Regions from separate parts of the Homo sapiens genome. Here regions 1 and 2 are each linked to region 3. Evidence: promoter capture Hi-C in 16 types of primary human blood cells and fetal thymus (Javierre and others, 2016). All regions are on one chromosome and are shown on one strand. Each heading gives the region's core, a stretch centred on a gene start or on the middle of the fragment in contact. The rest is flanking DNA. Distances are from core to core; before and after follow the strand shown. Region 1 has its middle 38 kb from the start of SMIM36. Region 2 has its middle 20 kb from the start of SMIM36. Region 3 holds the start of PCTP (phosphatidylcholine transfer protein).

Region 1 (2,700 bases), core at 175-2,674, 200 kb before region 3:
TTGGCCCTGGAGGCATCTGTGAAGATAGGAAATTGCAGAAGGAGGTGGGTCAACCATGCAGAAAGGAGGGATCAATGCACTTAAGACAGAAGGAACAGTATGAGTGAAGGTCCTGAGGCAGGAAAGAGCTTTGTGTGATGAACTGAAAGGAGACCAGTGTGGCTTGGGCATCAGGTGTAAAAGGCAAGAGTGGCCCAAGATGAAGCTATACAAGGATTAGATTATGCTGATCTTTGTAGACTCTGGGTAAGAATTATGAGTTCTATTTTAAGCGCATTAGGTAGACTTTGAAAAGTCTTGTGAAAAGCATGTGATTATCTGATTGTTATTTTAGAAAGATTTCCTCCAGCTTCTCTGTGGAAAATGAATCGGAGGAGCAAAGCAAAATACAGGAAGCCCAGTGCAGAGGCTATCACAATGGTCCAGGAGAGAGATGGTAGTGGCGTGAACCAAGATGGTAGAAATAGCTATAAGAAAATGAGCATATATCATGCTTATTTCGGAAGCAAAAATGAAGGCATATATTTGGGGTTGAAAGACGGTGATGAAGGATGACTTACAATTTCTAGCCATTTATTGAGTGGAGGAAAGGCCAAAGAGGGGTGGTTTGGTGGTGAAATCAATAGCTTCATTTTGAAAACGTTAAGTTTGAGATTCTGGGAGATATGCAAGAATACATATCAAGTAGGTAGTTAATTTATAAATCTGAAGTTTAGAGAGGAACTCAAGGTAGTGATTACAAATTATAGCTCCATCAGGTATTATATAGATGGTATGTCAGTGGGAGATCAATTAAGATTTTTAAAATGAGGCACCCAAATATAGTGGATCAAACAAGGCACAAGTTTCTTTATCATTCATGTCATAGTTCAGAGATAGGTGGGTGATCTAGTTAGACAGCTCCACTCCACAAGGTCATTCAGGGATTCACGGCACTTTTATTTGTCATCCCTTGAATATTATTTTTCTCTGTATGGTGGAAATTGGTTCATTAGCACCAAGACCACATCCTATCATTCAGAAATAGGGAAAAAGGTGCACCTTCTTTTTAAGGAAACGACCCAGGGGTAACACATGTTATTTAGCTGCAAGAGAGGCTGTAACATAGAGTCTATAAACTGGATGGCCATATGCTACCTGATGAAATGTCAATTCCATTACTAAAAAGAAGGGGAGAATGGATACCAGAAGACAAGACATACTGTCTGCCACAGACAGTAAAAAGGCAAAGCCTGCATGGGCAGGGTTTCTCAATGTACCAGCAGCACTTTGGAACAGATAATTCTTAGTTGTGGGAGGCTGTGCTGTGCATTTTAGGATTGTATACTCACCATCAATGTTTAGTAGTATTTCCAGCCTCTGTCCTTTAGATGCCAGTGACATACTCCCAGTTGTCACAGTAAAACATGTCTCTAGTCATTGGCAAATGTCCTCTAGGGGGCAAAATCACACCCTGTTGAGAACGACTGGGTTATATCAGGAGAACGAGTATAGAAAAAGAAGGAGTGCTGCCACTGGGGTTTGAGAAGTGCCAACATTTAAAGATTGGGTAGAAGAGGAGTAAAGGAGACAGGCAAGGAGTAGGCAATGGTATATAATGAAAACCAAGACTGAAGAGTGTCACAAAAGCCAATATAGGAGGGAGTTCCAAAATGGTAGGAGTGATTGACTATGTGGAATGCTACTATGGAATCAACTGAAACGAGGGCAGAAATGTGCTCATAGGATTTGGTAACATGGAGATTACAGGTGACACAGACAAGAGTAATTGCTGTGTAGTAGTGGAGGTGAAACTCAGCTTGTAGTGAGTAAGAGTAAGTGGAAAATGAATAAGTGGACATAATGTTTGTAGACAACCCTAAACAATGAAAAAGTACAGAGAAATGGAGAAGCATCTGGAGGGTTATGAGAGTTCAAAAGGGGTGTGGTTTTGTTTTTAATGAGAGATACTAGGAGGTGTTTGTATGAGCCGAAGGAAATAATCCAGTACACAAGAGTGCCACCATCCAAACATGTAAAGTGCTTGGAACTGCATTTAACAAGTAAACTGTATATTAAATATTAATATTACTCTATGAATTAGAGATTAAGTGGGCAATTGTGCTTTTAGACCCTGCTACAGATAGAACATTTTTGTCCCCCTCCAAATTCCTATGTTGAAATCTTAACCCCCAAGGTTAAGATTTTTTTCTTTTCAGAATTCCTTCAATTTTGATTGTGGGGATAAAATCAGACAGCCACTGAAGATAGAATACAGTTACTGGGAGTAATCACAATGCTGTTCTCTTTTATAAAGTGGATATGATGTGTTATTTATTCAATTAATGCACGTCGCCAAAAATTGTCCTTATTCCTTGATTGTCTCTTTTTTTTACCAGTCTCTTGTTGAAGTGGCCTCATTGTCTGGGAAAATACTTGAGGTTTGTTGTCTCACAGCCATGGAGATCAAGGATGCGGACACACAATGAGTGAGGTTAAGAGCGGAAATTTAATTGGGAAAAGAAAAAGAATAGCTCTCTGCTACACAGAGTAGTCCTGAAAAAATAGGTTGCTGGTCCACAGCAAAATGCAGGGGTTTTTATAGATGAGCTAGTGGGGAGGTGGTGTCTGATTTACATAGGGTGCAAAAATCTGGTTAGGACCAGGTGTGCCATTTGCCTATGGCACAAATCTCTGGCCGCCCCCATGCCAATCTTCTAT
Region 2 (2,700 bases), core at 90-2,589, 220 kb before region 3:
AAACAAACAAAAAACAAAACAAACACATTTTATATAATACTGAAACCTAACTTTTCCTTCTCAATAAGTTAGCCTATGCAAATACAGTTCAGCTGTAGCAGATGAATCTTCATTGCTCATTTAGGTAAGTGCATCCTCAGCCATCTTGCTGATAAACTGAGACTGTTTCCATCATCGTTCATAGAAGATGCAAATACATCCCTTTGGGGATGATGTGTTTAACTAATATTTCACCATCAAACTGAAAGCTGAGTTCTCCTCCTAAGCCCTAGCGAGGAAAGAGAAATAAAAGAGAAAGTTTGATCTGAAAACAACAAAGCTTTAAAAATCCCCAGAAGGATCTCTAAACTCCATGGGGATTTGGCAAAAGGTCATTTGGAATGGATTGTATGTAGCCAGGATAGGAACCCAATTTGGCTTCCAGAGATTGACTGAGGTGGTAAAGGTCGAGGGTAGGAGAGAGGAGGATTACAAATCAATCCAGCCCAGGGATGTGAAAACAGTTGGTGCTGCTCTAGGAACTCAGAATGATGTGGACTTCACCTTCCTCTCTGCCATTTACACACTACGCCCTATGGTCCTCCTTTGGCAATTGAAATATTGGTGGAGGCAGAAGGTTTCCCTTTTAGCAACTGGGATGGGAATCTAAGAGATTGTAGAGCTAATTAATACAGACTGCCCCAGACGCAGTTAAAAATGCAGGAGAGGCTGGGCGCGGTGGCTCACGCTTGTAATCCCAGCACTTTGGGAGGCCAAGGCAGGCGGATCAAAAGGTCAGGAGTTTGAGAACAGCCTGGCCAGCAGAGTGAAACCCCATCTCTACTAAAAATACAAAAATTAGCTAGGCATGGTGGCGGGCGCCTGTAATCCCAGCTACTCAGGAGGCTGAGGCAGGAGAATCACTTGAACCCAGGAGGCAGAGGGTGTAGTGAGCCGAGATCGTGCCACTGTACTCCAGCCTGGGTGACAGAGCTAGACTCCGCCTCAAAAAAAAATGCAGGAAAGCAGAAGGAATTGCTTGGATGTAGAAATTCTTATTTGGGAATTGTCTGCGGGGAATGAGGAAGAAATAAGTGACAGGTTGTTTTTTTGACCCTCTTCCCTTAGGCAAGTTCAACTATTAGATTCAGGCAGCCAGGCACAGGGAAATAAATAAAATTTCCTATTTAAGCCTACCTAATAATAATGATTTAATTTCCCTTTTCTTCCCCACAATCATGACAAAAGTTGTAGATTTTGCGGACTTTCAGATTCCATTTCTATCTCCTTCCAAGCCATCCTTCTGAAGCAAGATATCTTCTTAATCACTCCTATCATTATCAACTTTCAGTGGCTCTCCATGGTTATTAAAGGCCAAACATCTCAAGCATGCAAACATCTCCACAACCCCAACGCTGCCTGCCTTTCCCTTTTCTTCCGCTGACCTCCCCACATGACCAAACTTCCCTCAATAATGTGGCAGTTACTTGTAAGTTCATGCCCTTGCCCTCCTTTTGGCTTGGTGAACCCTCATGGATTCTTCAAAACTGGCTCCAATTGTCACCTTCTTTTGAAGTTTTTGTATCTTCCCATGCCAGAGGCTTTTGATAACCTCCTTATATTGTCTTGGCCTGGTGTATATACCGGCTTCCAGTTTTGTTTTCATTTCTCTTTCCCTAACTACATTGTGACCATTTGTTATTCCTACTGTGGCCCTACCCCCTAGTAGTGTCAGTCATAGGACTGATGAACAATAAATATTTGTGGAATCAATGAAGCTCTTGGTAGTTAACCTTTGGCCTTGATAAGGTGGACATGTTTTTATGTATTGGCTGACGTACCGAAAGAAATCAATGTCAAAGGGAAAAAGTCTTAAATTGTGTTTGTCCTTTGAAATCCAACTCTTTTTTACTTTGTATGGGCTACTTTTATTGTGACTAAACATCAGTACACAGTCACTGTTTTACATAAACATGGAGCTATAGTAGACATAATTGTTTAAGAAGCGGAATGTAACCATAATAAATGAGGAGGACACAATAGTACGGAATAGGCCCCAAGTAGGAGCTAAACAAACCAGACAATGGTAAGATAAAGTGAAAGATAAGGAGATAACACTCACAGGGATATTTGCCATCATGTAGAAGAGGTATTTCTCCATTGTGTAGGAATACATATGTCACCCAAGTGTCAGTTGTGTGGGTGACCCCAAGTACCCTCACTTTCTGGTCTGAGCCTGAATTTTAAAATTGAAATAAGATATTGCTATCGAAAAGTCTCACCTGTGTAATTTTGTAGAGTTTACATGTCTTTATGCCCCGTTATGCTTCCTAAATATTGCTCCTCATTTCTGCTGTTAACTTTCTTTCTCTCTTTTACTGAAGCTTTGCAGTAATGGAGGGATGATGGCATAGCATCATGTAGATAGCAACTTGAAACTGAACATTAGATAGCTTTGTGCTGAAATTCATCAGCCATTCTTCACCACAGGGAATATCTTGCTGGTTTGGCGGAGGGCTGACCTTCCTTCTTGTAGCTCATACCTTCTCCTTATCTCCATTCTCTTCCTATTGTCTTGCCTGAGTTATTCATTGAGATTCAAAGTTCTTCTCACTTAATTGTGCAGTGTTTAACTTCTCTTTTAATTTTCCATGTCCTTCCAGACTATGCCCCGGAAAGGTCACGTAGGTGAGGTCCAACACAATGGGTGTTACTTTTTCA
Region 3 (2,700 bases), core at 131-2,630:
TTTATAATGGATTCCTTGAAGATACTTGAAAATACTTCATAGCCAATAGTTTTTACACAATTGGTTTTTCAAGCAATGAATTTCCATTTAAATAAAATATGGATTTACAATACATAGAAAATTTACAAGGAGTTATAAAACAGTGGGAAAGTATGTCTAGCCTAAACTTTTGTGCATTTAGTCTAGGAAAATTTCACATCCCTCTTTCCACACCTATAAAGCCAAACAGAACCAGGACTGACTTGAGGAAAGCAATTATTTATCTCTGCTGTGTCTAACTAAGCAAGCTGCCAAATGTGATCATTTGCCTGATTGGAAAATCACATAAATTAAGACTTTGCCATCAACTTTCTTTCAAGTAAGGAAAGAAAAGCATTTCAATATAGTAATGCAAAACAAGTGGAAATTGTTATTGAACATTTACTTGGACGGGCACTGTGGAAAATTATTCCTTGTCCAACCACCTCCTCAGCTGTAACTGGTAGCACAATTCTTGACCCATTTTACAGATTAGGAAACATGAGTTTCCAGAGTTTATTGGCACTCACGTGGCTGTTACATCGTTTTGATGTTCAAACGACCTACTTTATTCAAAGTCAGGTAGTACAGTCTGCTGGTGGGAAATACAGTATTACTCAAGGGACTTCAAAGGAACAAGAAGATGTTTGAGTTGCACAGTGAGCTAAATTATGCAAGTTGCAGAAATCCTAGGTGGATAGTACGACACCTTTCAGATCAGTTTCTACCCTCAAGGGTGGCAACAACCTTGTAGATCCATTATGGATTAGGTTTCTAAACTGTTTTGGTGTTATGAACCCCTAGAGTCTTCTGGGGAATCCAATGGACCTCGTCTCAGAATAATGTTTTACAATGTATAGCAGAAAGAAGAGAAATTATATTGAAATACACTTCTGGCATTTGACCCCTTAGGATTTTTCCAGCATTTCTACTCTGCCCACCTCTCCTCTCATGTCTACCAAAGAGACTTTCTCTACTTTATTCAGAAAGGTAAATGAGAGACACTCAAACAGGTCTGTAGGTTATGGGAGTAGCAGGGAGTATGGGATAGGCTACTGAGGAGCTGTTTTTGAGGTGACATCACTGTCTCCCTTCCTTTTTCCCTTCCCTCTGGAAGCCTCCTTACTTCTCCAGCTCTTCCTTCCTTCCCCACATCAAGTCCAATTTTTCTCCTTTTACTTCTTGTCTATCCTCCTCACTCCTTGCTCAGCCCCGCCCGCTTTTCTAGGCCCGCCCCTCCAGGGCCCCACCCTCAGGCCGCTCCTCCAGTCTAGGCCCCGCCTTCTCCTCAGTTTCCTGCCAATGACGCTGGGGCAGCCGGGGCAGCCGGGGCAGCCCGGTCACCCCGCCCCCAGGCCCACACTAAGGGTGTCCGCGGCCTGCCCTCCAGGCGGAGGAGCCCGGACTGCGGAAGGATGGAGCTGGCCGCCGGAAGCTTCTCGGAGGAGCAGTTCTGGGAGGCCTGCGCCGAGCTCCAGCAGCCCGCTCTGGCCGGGGCCGACTGGCAGCTCCTAGTGGAGACCTCGGGCATCAGCATCTACCGGCTGCTGGACAAGGTAGCGGCCAACCCGCTGGAGGACCGCGGGGCCTAGAATGCGCCGGGGTCGACCTCCCCGCAGGGAGTGCGGGGCGGCAGTCGCGGAAGGGACAGGGGCGCGTCTTCTCCGGCTCAGGAAGGAGCTCCGCCCGGACCCTGTCTCAAGCTCTGGAGCTAGCGCAGGGGCGGTGCCTCCAAGTGACTGCCGTGCAGATCCAGGGGAGTTGGAAGGTCACAGGAGTTCAGCCTCAGGTCAGGCCCGACGGGGCATGTAGTTAGAAGTTAATGACAGTTGAAACGTGGGTCAGCTGGTTCCTAGGCCCGTGCACACGTCTGCAAGGGACGTTGATCCTCACTCTCCAATGCGTGTCAGTGGCATATGGGGGCTGGGGTGGGGGAGGGGCGGTATCTTAGGGCTTGGATATAGGAGGAAAAGAAACAGAACTTTTCAAGGACTGGATGTGCAGGGTGGTGTCAGGGGTTGCCGAGAAGGGCCCTACTGTTTTAGTGACTCGTTTCTTTTGGTTGTTGCCCCTTCCTTCCAAGTTGCTCTTAATAAGTTGAGTCCGAATCTTCAGGCAGGAGTAAAGATGTAGGAGGAATGGGATTGGTTGTTGAAGTCTTTGGAATCAGGTAGCCATCCAGGTGGAAGGCATTGCCCCTGAGGCCTGTCATCCAAGGCTTGTCATCAGTTGCTTTGTGTAATAGTCGCAGCATGGCAAGTAGGTTAAAAGTCGCCTGCAGGTAATGTGGGTGAAACTGAAGTTTCCTAATACAGGACCAGGATATTATAGTGTTAGAGTTAGGAGGATACCTCATGCTCACCTGGTTAAACCCCAGGTTTCATAGGTGAAAGCAACAGGCCTCAAGGGTGAAGTCACTCCTGAAATGGCCCAGATAAGTGAATAGCAGAGGTGGGATTGGAGGGTTCATGATCTTGTGAATGTCAAACATGTGGTTGCCTTTTTAGGCACTTGCATTTTTGTTTACATCAAATATAGTGTTTTTATATTTTAAAACAGAAAACAAACGTTTGCAATATTTAGAAGTTGCTCACCTGTTAAACAGGAATGAAAACTCTGCCTGTCTCATTGCAGGAATGAAAACTCTGCCTGTCTCATTGCAGGGTTGTTAGGGGGTTCAAA

What was found. The method cuts DNA at HindIII sites, captures the fragments that hold promoters and counts their contacts. A CHiCAGO score of 5 or more calls a contact.
Region 1: a fragment that was not itself captured here is called in contact with the fragment with the promoter of PCTP in region 3 in 1 of 17 cell types (monocytes); the score reaches 5.4 in monocytes.
Region 2: a fragment that was not itself captured here is called in contact with the fragment with the promoter of PCTP in region 3 in 6 of 17 cell types (monocytes, M0 macrophages, neutrophils and 3 more); the score reaches 9.6 in monocytes.

What each region holds. Positions count from the first base shown.
Region 1 is chr17:55,547,907-55,550,606 of GRCh38, forward strand. No RefSeq gene overlaps it. Among named protein-coding and RNA genes, the nearest start is that of SMIM36, 38 kb to the left of the region's middle. The HindIII fragment of the contact is 2,872 bases long and covers 1-2,700 here.
Region 2 is chr17:55,529,797-55,532,496 of GRCh38, forward strand. It overlaps a transcript of SMIM36 not described here. Among named protein-coding and RNA genes, the nearest start is that of SMIM36, 20 kb to the left of the region's middle. The HindIII fragment of the contact is 2,044 bases long and covers 318-2,361 here.
Region 3 is chr17:55,749,671-55,752,370 of GRCh38, forward strand. It overlaps PCTP (phosphatidylcholine transfer protein), which reads left to right and starts at 1,381. Exons shown (of 6, transcript NM_021213.4): 1 at 1,381-1,574. The coding sequence starts at 1,434. RefSeq lists a silencer at 1,179-1,518. The HindIII fragment of the contact is 1,470 bases long and covers 1-1,451 here.